Linked DNA regions of Homo sapiens: region 2 is linked to region 1. The links are contacts of gene promoters, found by promoter capture Hi-C in human tissues and cell types (Jung and others, 2019). All regions are on one chromosome and are shown on one strand. The core of a region is centred on a gene start or on the middle of the fragment in contact, and the rest is flanking DNA. Distances in the headings are between cores, read along the strand shown.

Region 1 (5,280 bases), core at 1,824-4,323:
GCACTCCAGCCTGGTGACAGAGTGAGACTCTGTCTCAAAAAAATAAATAAAATAAAAAATAAAAGTATATCAGCAGCTCGGTTTTATCACTGTACCAAGAGTTGATCAGGTACAGGAGGGACAATATGCTAACCAGATTCACCGAGGACTACCAAATGATTCAGACTGCCCATTTAATAATCTACCATGAGAGGCCGGGCGTGGTGGCTCAGCACTTTGGGAGGCTGAGGGAGGCGGATCAAGAGATCAGGAGATCGAGACCATCCTGGCCGACATGGTGAAACCCCGTCTCTACTAAAAAAAAATACAAAAATTAGCTGGGCGTGGTGGTGCACTCCTGTAATCCCAGCTACTCAGGAGGCTGAGGCATGAGAATCAGGTGAACCTGGGAGGCAGAGGTTGCAGTAAGCCAAGATCATACCACTGTACTCCAGCCTGGTGACAGAGTGAGACTCCATCTCACAAATAAAAATAATTTACAATGAGAAATATGCCAAATGGCACAAAAGGTTCTTGCTGGCTGGTCAGTGTACAAAATGAATCAGGAAGCAAAATGAAAACCAAAGGTTGTTCCATGAAGGGTTCAGAGCCAAGTGAAGTGACTGAGAGATCTAGATCACAGCTGGTCACCAGGCACAAAGCTGACTCTCATGTCTTCACTATAAAGAGATACTTATGGCTGGGTGCAGTGGCGCACGCCTGTAATCCTAGCACTTTGGGAGGCCAAGACAGGCGATCACCTGAGGTTGGGAGTTCGAGACAAGCCTGACCAACATGGAGAAACCCCGTCTCTACTAAAAATACAAAACTAGCTGGGTGTGGTGGCACATGCCTGTAATCCGAGCTATTCAGGAGGCTGAGGCAGGAGAACTGCTTGAACTCAGGAGGCGGAGGTTGCGGTGAGCTGAGATCATGCCATTGCACTCCAGCCTGGGCAACAGGAGTGAAACTCTGTCTCAAAAAAAAAGAAGACAGATACTTATTACCATGCAGTCCAGGTATTCGCCTTGGCTTGTAAGAGGCAAACAAGGTCTATTTAGTACAGGAGACATAATGACAGCTTCTTGCTTTTTGCCTAAGCTTTTACTAACAGAAGACTAACTCTTTCTCGGACAGAAAGAGCCTGCTATTAAGAGAAAAATGATCGGCCGGGCACGGTGGGTCACGCCTGTAATCCCAGCACTTTGAGAGGCCGAGGTGGGCGAATCACGAGGTCAGGAGATCCAGACCATCCTGGCTAACAGGGTGAAACCCCGTCTCTACCAAAAATACAAAAAAATTAGCCGGGTGTGGTGGCGGGTGCCTGTAGTCCCAGCTGCTGGGGAGGCTAAGGTAGAAGAATGGCGTGAACCCAGGAGGCGGAGCTTGCAGTGAGCCAAGATCATGCCACTGCACTCCAGCCTAGGCGACACAGCGAGACTCTGTCTCAAAAAAAAAGAGAAAAATGATCAGGTTGGGATGGGCCTATACCCTAGTTATTTTTTTTTATTTTTATTTTTTGAGACAGAGTCTCACTCTGTTGCCCAGGCTGGACTGCAGTGGCACAATCTCCGCTCACTGCAACCTCCAGCTCCCAGGTTTAACCATGTCTGGCTAATTTTTGTATTTTTAGTAGAGATGGGGTTTTGCCATGTTGGCCATGCTGGTCTTGAACTCCTGGCCTCAAATGATCCGCCTGCTTCAGCCTCCCAAAGTGCTGAGATTACAGGCATGAGCCACCGCGCCTGGCCTTGAATATTTCTACAATGATGGAATGTACCTGTTAATACAGTGTGTCTTATCAAACACATGCTGCCAAGGAGAGCACTGGGTATTCTTCCAGTGTAAAGTAGATTCCTAGGCAGTCTAGGGAGTCAGGAAAGGCTTCCCTGAGGATGAGATGGAAGAGGGACTGAGGGCCCAAAGTGGCTGAAAGACAGAGAGCCAATAGGAGGAAGTCCAGTTACAGAGGGCCAGGATTTGGGTTTTTAACCATTTAATGGTTATAAACTGAGACTAACATACTCAGATTTAGACTTTACAAAGATCAGCAAGTATAATGGATTGGAAGGATCAAGAATTAATCCCAGCCTGACCAACACAACCTCCACTTCCTCCTCCCAGCAGTTTGGAATCCTTACCTTTTGCAATAGTATACGTTCATTCATTTATTATGCATTCGATAATATTTACTGAGAGCCTACTATGTGCCAAACATTATCCTAGAGGTTAAGAGGGGACAAGAGCAAAGGGTCAGCAGTCTAGGGGTGAGATGGAGTCAAAAGGACGGCAGGTCAGCTGGAATGATGAGAACAGCAGTGGAGAGCCTTTAAAAGTGCCTTGGACTGGACCGATTACCTTCTAAATGCCGGCGCCCGGAAAAATCACTAACACCCTTTGGACTTACGTATTTCCATCTTTGTAAAATGGGAACCTACCTCGCAAGGGATGTTGCAACAATCGAAGAAAACTATGCACAATGCTTGACATCCAGTGGGTCCTCAGTAAATAGCCTAAGAAGGAAGCAAGGTTATGGTTACTTCTGGAAGAGGTGGCTTGGGGGCTGCGACAGGTGCAGCGATTGCCTGATGATAACATCTAGAAAAGCCCTTGCTGGGCAGAGGGGCAGCCGACGACCCCCGCCACTCAGCGAGTCTCCAGGTTTCCCGGAAACGCTAGCTCCAGTGACTTCTCAGATGCCCCTATGGGACCCCACCCAGGGCTGCCGCCGCCACCACCTACTGCAGCCGAAGCGGATGCACCTCGCGACTTTCCCCGCAGCCGCTGCCGGGGCCACAGCGAGGTCATGACGCCCGTGACGCATACGCAGCCAGCACGCACGCGCGCGGCGTGGCCCGCCCCCCCCTCCCACCCCGGAGGCGGGGCCGTGAGTCCCGGGCTCCGCCCCGGAGCGTCGGGCCCCTCCCCGGGCCCCGCCTCCAGCTCGCCTAGGACCGCTTGGAGCCGGCAGCTCGCCTGCCAAACCCGGCTGGGAACGCCTGGCAGCTTTTAGGAGGGGGCGGGCCCGGGGGTGGTGGCCCCAGGAGCGGTTGCCGCGGGGACCGGGCAGTGACGCGGCCCAAGGGCGGAAGTGAGAAAGTTGTCTGCGTCTCGAGGCGAGTTGGCGGAGCTGTGCGCGCGGCGGGGCGATGGGGGGCTCGGGCAGTCGCCTGTCCAAGGAGCTGCTGGCCGAGTACCAGGTGCGCGGGACGCCTGGCCCTGGGGAGCTCGCGTGCGGGCCTCTTCTCGGGAGCAGGGTCCGGGAGCTGGCTGCGGGGCGGCCGCGGCCTCCCAGCGGTCCGCTAATCCCCGCTCTGGCTTTGCCTTCCAGGACTTGACGTTCCTGACGAAGCAGGAGATCCTCCTGTAAGTGCTGCCTTGAACCCTGCCTCCGACCCCGGGATCCTCTAGAGACAGCTTCGGGGGCGCTGTCCCGAGGGAGGGGCGGGGGCTGGCCTGAGGTCTGCAGAGGAGCGGGAGCTGGAGGCCGGGAGACCTAGCCCGGGCTGCGCCCTCCTCCCGGCACGCCCTCCCCGCCCTCGCCTGAGGCCCCAGCGTGGCACCGCGGAGCCACCTTACAGCCTCCAGGAAAAGTTAGGCGCTCTTTGACCCTGGGCTCCACTAGCTTCAGCACTGCCGAACTTCCTGCCCCAGTCCGGCAGGGGCCGACCTTGCCCAGTGGCTAAACCACAGAAGCCTTGGGGAGCCCGGCTCCTTCTCCCAACTTTACCTGAATAATACAGTAACCGTTATCGCTTTCTGAGCACTCACCATGTGCCAGGGACTGTGCTAAATGGTTGCCTGCGTTACCTAATTTAATCTTTAGGAGAGAGGTACTGGACAATGAAACAGGTTCAGAAAGGTTTGGTAACTGCTTAAGACAACACTCTGAGTAAGTAGATTTGAACTTGGGCTGGAAGCCCTTTTGCCGGATTTATGCAGGCCAGGTTCCTGTGGCAAAGATAAGCTCATGGGAAGGAGGTGGAGGCCGAGGAGGACAGTTCAGTGTGGTTGCTAAAAAGGAGGCTTTGAGGGTAAGAGATCCCTGGAGTGAAGGTGAGAATGAGATTTTTGGTTTTGCTCTTTTCTCCGTTTTTTTTTTTTTGAGACAGCGTCTCGCTCTGTCGCCCAGGCTGGAGTGCTGGGGCACGATCTTGGCTCACTGCAGGCTCTGCCTCCGGGTTCAAGTGATTCTCCTGCCTCCGGGTTCAAGTGATTCTCCTGCCTCAGCCTCCTGAGTAGCTGGGATTATAGGCACCCGCCACCATGCCCGGCTAATTTTTGTATTTTTAGTAGAGAAGGGGTTCACCATGTTGCTCAGACTGGTCTCAGACGCCTGACCTCCAAAGCTCCGCCCGCCTTGGCCTCCCAAAGTGCTGGGATTACAGGTGTGAGCCACCGTGCCTGGCCAATTCTTTAGGGCCAACTTCTGGCTCCTTTCCCAACTTCTTCATCCCTTGGGGATCTCTAGAATCAGTGCCAAGCACATAGTAAATGCTCAGTAAATACTCATTGCAAGAATAGACTCCTAGGCTGTACTGCCTTGTGACATGTCCTTTTGCTTACCGTTGCCTGATGACTCGGAAGTTCTGTGTACGTGGTTTTAGCTCCTCACCTGGTTGACAATGAGCAGCAGGCAAGGAGTGGGAATGAACACACAGGGAGACCGATCGCTGAGAACACCGACAGTTCCCCTCTCTCTACCAGAGCCCACAGGCGGTTTTGTGAGCTGCTTCCCCAGGAGCAGCGGAGCGTGGAGTCGTCACTTCGGGCACAAGTGCCCTTCGAGCAGATTCTCAGCCTTCCAGAGCTCAAGGTGCAAGCGCTCCCCTCCTTTGACACCTCTCCCACCACTCCCTCCCTGCTAGACCCCCTAACTCCATCTGCCACTAGCTTTGGGATCATGGGGTCACTGGTCCCCACTCTGGTCATTTTTCTGCTTAGTTCTGATTTTCTAGGGGCAAGGACTTTACCAAAATCACCTGGCAGAATTATCTAGAATGGTGCTTTTCAAATGGGGATTCTAGAACATAATCTTGGAAGTTCAAAGAAGTTTTGTCCCTTAAGAGGAGTTGAGGTACCTCATTAGAGTTTGAGGAACCGTGTTCTAGAGGCTGATTGCCACTCCGTAAGGCTGCTGCAAAATTTCTGTGCAAAGGGCCTGGCCCGGTGCCTGTAACACAATAGCTGTTCAAGTAAATATTTGTGTTTTAAAATAACCAGCCCATCTCGTTCCCTTTGTTTAGGATGACTTCTTCTTCCCTCTCTGCCCACACTTACGTTGTATGTGACCTGCCTTTG
Region 2 (5,227 bases), core at 1,527-4,026, 260 kb after region 1:
TCTCAAACTCCTGGACTCAAATGATTCTCCCGCCTTAGCCTCCCAAAGTGCTGGGATTACAGGCATGAGCCACTGCACCTGGCCACATGACACATTTTCAATGTACTTTTCCTGTGTCTGTTTCATGCCCTGAAGGACGGACAGGGTAGGAACAGAGCAGGGAGGGTAGCAACACAGAGTTTGGCATGGGCTGGCCTCCCTGATGGAGGAGGTGGTTGGGGTAGGGCTGTTAAATGGGCAGAAGTGAGGTGGCAGAAAGGCAGACAGTCTAGATGACCTGAACCTGAATCCTGGCCTGCGACTGGGAGACCTTGGGCAGGTCACTTATAAACTCTCCAGCCTCCCTTAATTCTTGAGGATGAGAATGTTATTGTGAGGATTAAAAAGAAACATGTTTAAAGCACTTAGCATGGTCCTGGACATGTTTTCAATCTCCATGAGTTTTATTTAATTATTAAATAGGAGAAACAAATTAGAAACTCAGGAATACCTGAATGCAGTCTGGGTTCATTCAGAAATGAACATTTGATCCACTAAGGGAGTGTCTGATTTTCAAATGACTTATCTTCATTTAATAATATTTAATTGGCTTAGAATGGCAGAGTATGGGTTCTCTAGGTTGGAAAGGACATTAGGCAGGGCTTGCGGTGTGGCCCCAGGAATCCTGGGCTCAGCAGAGCTGCCTCAGTGTCAGGAAGGCCCAGTGGGCAGAGTTCCAGGGATTTGCCCCTGAAAGAAGTTTGTAAACCCCACAGTTCAATGCATAAACCCATTCTGATATTCCTGGTACGAGACTGAGGCCCTTCTTTGAACAATTCTGTAACATTAGACATCACTACCTTTCTTTATTGGAACAGGAATCTACTGCCCTGTTAGGGCCATCTGTGTCCAGCTTCTAGATCTGATTTCCAGAATTCTCCATTCTTTTTTATTTTAACTTTTTTTTTTTTGTAGCAATGGGGTCTTCCTATGTTGTCCAGACTGATCTCAAACTCCTGGGCTCAAGCCCTCCTCCTGCCACAGCCTCCCAAAGTGTTAGGATTACAGGCATGAGCCACCACACTTGCCTGAATTCTTCATTCTTAAGAAACAGCTTCCAGCATAACCCACAGGAACTGCAGGGTTCTGCCCCATGGGCCCTCCTGAGGAAGCTTGGGGACTGACGGCTTCTGCTGAGCCTCAGAAGAAGGAAGGAACCCAGCATCCTTGAGAATCCGTTTTTAGGCCGAGGTGGGTGGATCACTCAATGCCAGGAGTTCGAGACCAGCCTAGCCAACATGGTGAAACCCCGTCTCTACTAAAAATATACAATTTAGCTGGGTGTGATGGCACATGCCTGTAATCCCAGGTACTCTCAGGAGGCTGAGGCATGAGAATTTCTTGAACCCGGGAGGCAGAGGGTGCAGTGAGCTCAGATCATGCCACTGCACTCCAGCCTGGGCAACAGAGGGAGACCCTGTCTCAAAAAAAAGGGGAAGTCAATTTTTTTTAGAAATTCCTGTTGAAGTCCAATAACTCAGGGACCAGAGGCCTTTGAGACAGTGAGCTCTGTCCTCTGTGAAACCATAGCTTGTTATACAACAGGCTGTAATTAATATCTCCAGGAGTCTGAAAGACACCCCATCACTAATAAAAAATGAAAGCCGTCTGGGCCCAGTGCCCAGAGCCTGCAGACTCCTGCCAGGCCGGGATCCTCCAGCAGAGAGCGCTCACAGGGACAAGACACGTCAACCATGCCCCTACAGTCCCAGCCTCCAAATTGCAGAACACAGCTCTGTCCCACCTGGTTTTGCTCAGCCAGAGCAGGGCAGGCACCAGAAGACCTGCTTCTTCAGGGTGTGAGCCACTCAGAGGACAGACCTGGGCGTGTTGGGGTCAGGTGGGGGAGAGGGAGAATGGGGCACCTGCTTCAGGAGTGAATTTCCTTTGATTCCCAACTTGCACATCTGTTTGTTGCCCATTTTGCAAGGATTGGGCTTCCACTCTGGTGTAGGGCACATGGGTTCAGCCAGAACTTTCCTGCACACTGCTGCTAGATTCACTTGCTGAAAACACCTCTCAAATCGCACCACTCTTTTACTCAAGAACCTGTAACGACCCCATGTCCATGGTATCAGGTGGACTTTTCTGACTGGTGTCAAGGCCTTTGGTAATTTGCCTTCTCTGTTCCAATCTGCATCGTCTCTACATAGGCAGGCTGGTCTCCCTCTCTGGCTGCCCCAAACTGCCACCCAGTTTCTATTCCATAAAATGGCACCAGTAGTGCCCACCTCCTAGAGTTACCGTCGTGTGGCTTAAACAAGAGAACACATGTGAACCACACGCCTGGCATATAATAGGCACTTATAGTATGTTAAATGTTTGTGATGTCGCTGCTGCTACTGAACTCATTCCTTCCTTTGTAACTTCCCCCTTCCCTTCTCCCAGCCAAAACGTTTCTGCCCTTTACAGCTCAGCTCAAAGCTCCTCTTCTTCTTGGAAGTCATCCAGGATCATCATGTAACTGTGTTTCCAAACCTGGGGCACTTCGGAATCACCTGGGGTTTTTTTTTAATGTCTTTTTTTTTTTTTTTTTGCTTGGTTAAACATTATTTTAGTGGTAACAATGCTTTTATTACTTTTTTACCATTGTAATCATTTTTAATGTAAAATTTACCATCTAAACAATTTTTTTTTTTTTTTGCAGACGGAGTTTCTCTCCTGTCACCCAGGCTGGAATGCAATGGCATGGTGTCGGCTCACTGCAACCTTTACCTCCCGGGTTCAAGTGATTCTCCTGCCTCAGCCTCCTGAGTAGCTGGGATTACAGGCACCCACCATCATGCCTGACTAATTTTTGTATTTTTAGTAGAGACGGGGTTTCGCCATGTTGGCCACGCTGGTCTCGAACTCCTGACCTCAGGTGATACATCTGCCTTGGCCTCCCAAAGTGCTGGGATTACAGGTGTGAGCCACCACGCCCGGCCTCTCATAGAGGTTTTGATTTTCACTTGCTGGATGATTAGTGATGTAAGCACCTTTTTATATACCTGTTGGCCATTTTTATGTCTTTCTTGAGGAAATGTCTGTTCAAGTGCTTTGGCAAATCGAGTTACTTGCTTTTCTGTCACTGAGTTGTAAGAGTTTGTTGTTGTTGTTGTTGTTTTGTTTTGTTTTGAGACAGAGTCTCGCTCTGTCACCCAGCCTGGAGTGCAGTGGCGCAATCTTGGCTCACTGCAACCTCCGCCTCCTGGGTTCAAATGATTCTCCTGCCTCAGCCCTCCGAGTAGCTGGGATTACAAGAGCCCGCCACCACACCCGGCTAATTTTTCTATTTTTAGTAGAGGTGGGGTTTCACAAAGATTGGCCAGACTGGTCTCAAACTCCTGACCTCAGGTGATCCACTCGTCTCGACCTCCCAAAGTGCTGGGATTACAGGCGTGAGCCACCGTGCCCAGTCATTTTTTTTTTCTTTTTGAGATGGAGTTTTTGCTCTCTCGCCCAGGCTGGAGTACAGTGGTGCGATCTTGGCTCACTGCAACCTCTGCCTGCTGGGTTCGAGGGATTCTCCTGCCTCAGCCTTCCGAGTAGCTGGGATTACAGGTGCCCGCCACCATGCCTGGCTAATTTTTGTATTTTTTGTAGAGACCTAGTTTTACCCTGTTGGCCAGGCTTGTCTCAAACTCCTGAAGTGCTGGGATTACAGGAGTGAGCCACTGTGCCAGGCCGAGTTGTAACAGTTCTTTATATATTTTGAATACTAATTCCATTATCAGATACATGGTTTGCAAAGATTTTTCTCAGTCCATAGACTGCTTCCCATTTTGTCTTCTTTGCTGTGCAAAAGGTTTTTTCTTTAATCTAGTTCCATTATTTATTTTTGCTTTTATAGCTTGACCTCTTGGTATTATATTAAAAAATAATTGCCAAGACCAATGTCAAGGAGCTTTTCCCCTGTGTTCTTATCTAGGAGATTTATGGTTTCAAGTTTTACATTTAGGTCTTTCATCCATTTCGATTTGATTGTTATGTATGGTGTATGATAAGGATCCGATTTTGTTCTTCTGCATATGAAAATAGTTTTCCCAGCACCATTTATTGTCTTCATTTCTGATTTTATTTTATTTATTTTGTTTTATTTTTTGAGATAGGGTCTCACTCTATTGCTCAGGCTGGAGTGCAGTGGCGATATCATGGCGCACTGCAGCCTCAACCTCCTGGGCTCAAGGGATCCTCCTGCCTCAGCCTCCTGATGAGATGAGACTCTATCTATTAGATTAGATAGAGACAGGGTCTCGCCATGTTGCTCAGACTGGTCTCAAACTCCTGGGCTCAAGCAATCCTCCCACCTCAGCCTCCCAAAGTGCTGAGATTGCACCTAAGCCATTTCTGATTTTAGTTGCTTGAATCTTCTCTCTTTTTTCTTCGTTAATCTAGCTAAGTGTTTGTCAATTTTGTTGATCTTTTCAACAAATCAACTCTTAGTTTAACTGATTTTTTTCTATTGTTTTTCTGTTCTCTATTCCCTTGATCTCTGTTCTGATCTTTATTTCATTCCTTTTGCTAGCTTTGTGTTTACTTTGTTCTTCTTTTTGTAGTTCCTTGAGGTGTAGAATTAGGTTGTTGGTTTGTGATCCTTCTCCTTCTTTTAAAAAATGTAGACACATTTTTTACATACATGTCTTTCATTTTCTTTCTTTTAAACAGAGACAGGGTTTTGCCATGTTGTCCAGACTCTGGTCTCAAACTCCTGGGCTCAGGTAATTCTTCTGCCTCGTCCTCTCAAAGTGCTGGAATTAAAGGCATAAACCACCATGCCTGGCTCTTTCTTCTTCTATTATTTATTTATTTATTTTAAGACAGGGTCTCACTCTGTCACCCAGGCTGAGTGCAGTGGTGCAATCATGGCTCACTGCAACCTCAGCTTCCCAGGACCAAGCGATTCTCCTGCCTCAGCCTCCCAAGTAGCTGGAACTACAGGCCTGCTTCACTGTGCCCATATTTTTTTTTTTTTTTTAGTGGAGATGAGGTCTCACTATGTTGCCCAGGCTGGTCTTGAACTCCTGGCCTCAAGCAATCCTCCCACCTCAGCCTACCAAAGTGCTGGGATTACAGGTGTGAGCCACCTCGCCCAACCTCTCCTCCTCCTTCTCCTTCTCCTCCTCCTTCTCCTTCTCCTCCTCCTCCTTCCCCTCCTCCTCCCCTCCTTCTCCTCCTCCTCCTCCTCTTCTTCTTCCCTCTTCTTCTT

Evidence for each region. The method cuts DNA at HindIII sites, captures the fragments that hold promoters and counts their contacts. A contact is called where the count stands out against the background at its distance.
Region 2: a fragment that was not itself captured here is called in contact with the fragment with the promoter of CIB1 in region 1 in 1 of the 25 tissues and cell types used here (pancreas).

The regions. Positions count from the first base shown.
Region 1 is chr15:90,231,734-90,237,013 of GRCh38, reverse strand. It overlaps CIB1 (calcium and integrin binding 1), which reads left to right and starts at 3,073. Exons shown (of 7, transcript NM_006384.4): 1 at 3,073-3,179; 2 at 3,311-3,345; 3 at 4,687-4,795. The coding sequence starts at 3,129. GDPGP1 (GDP-D-glucose phosphorylase 1) reads right to left here and starts at 2,805. Exons shown (of 4, transcript NM_001013657.3): 1 at 2,722-2,805; 2 at 2,418-2,492. RefSeq lists silencers at 2,671-3,110, 3,131-3,580. The HindIII fragment of the contact is 18,702 bases long and covers 1-5,280 here.
Region 2 is chr15:89,968,209-89,973,435 of GRCh38, reverse strand. No RefSeq gene overlaps it. Among named protein-coding and RNA genes, the nearest start is that of ZNF710, 31 kb to the left of the region's middle. The HindIII fragment of the contact is 6,489 bases long and covers 1-5,227 here.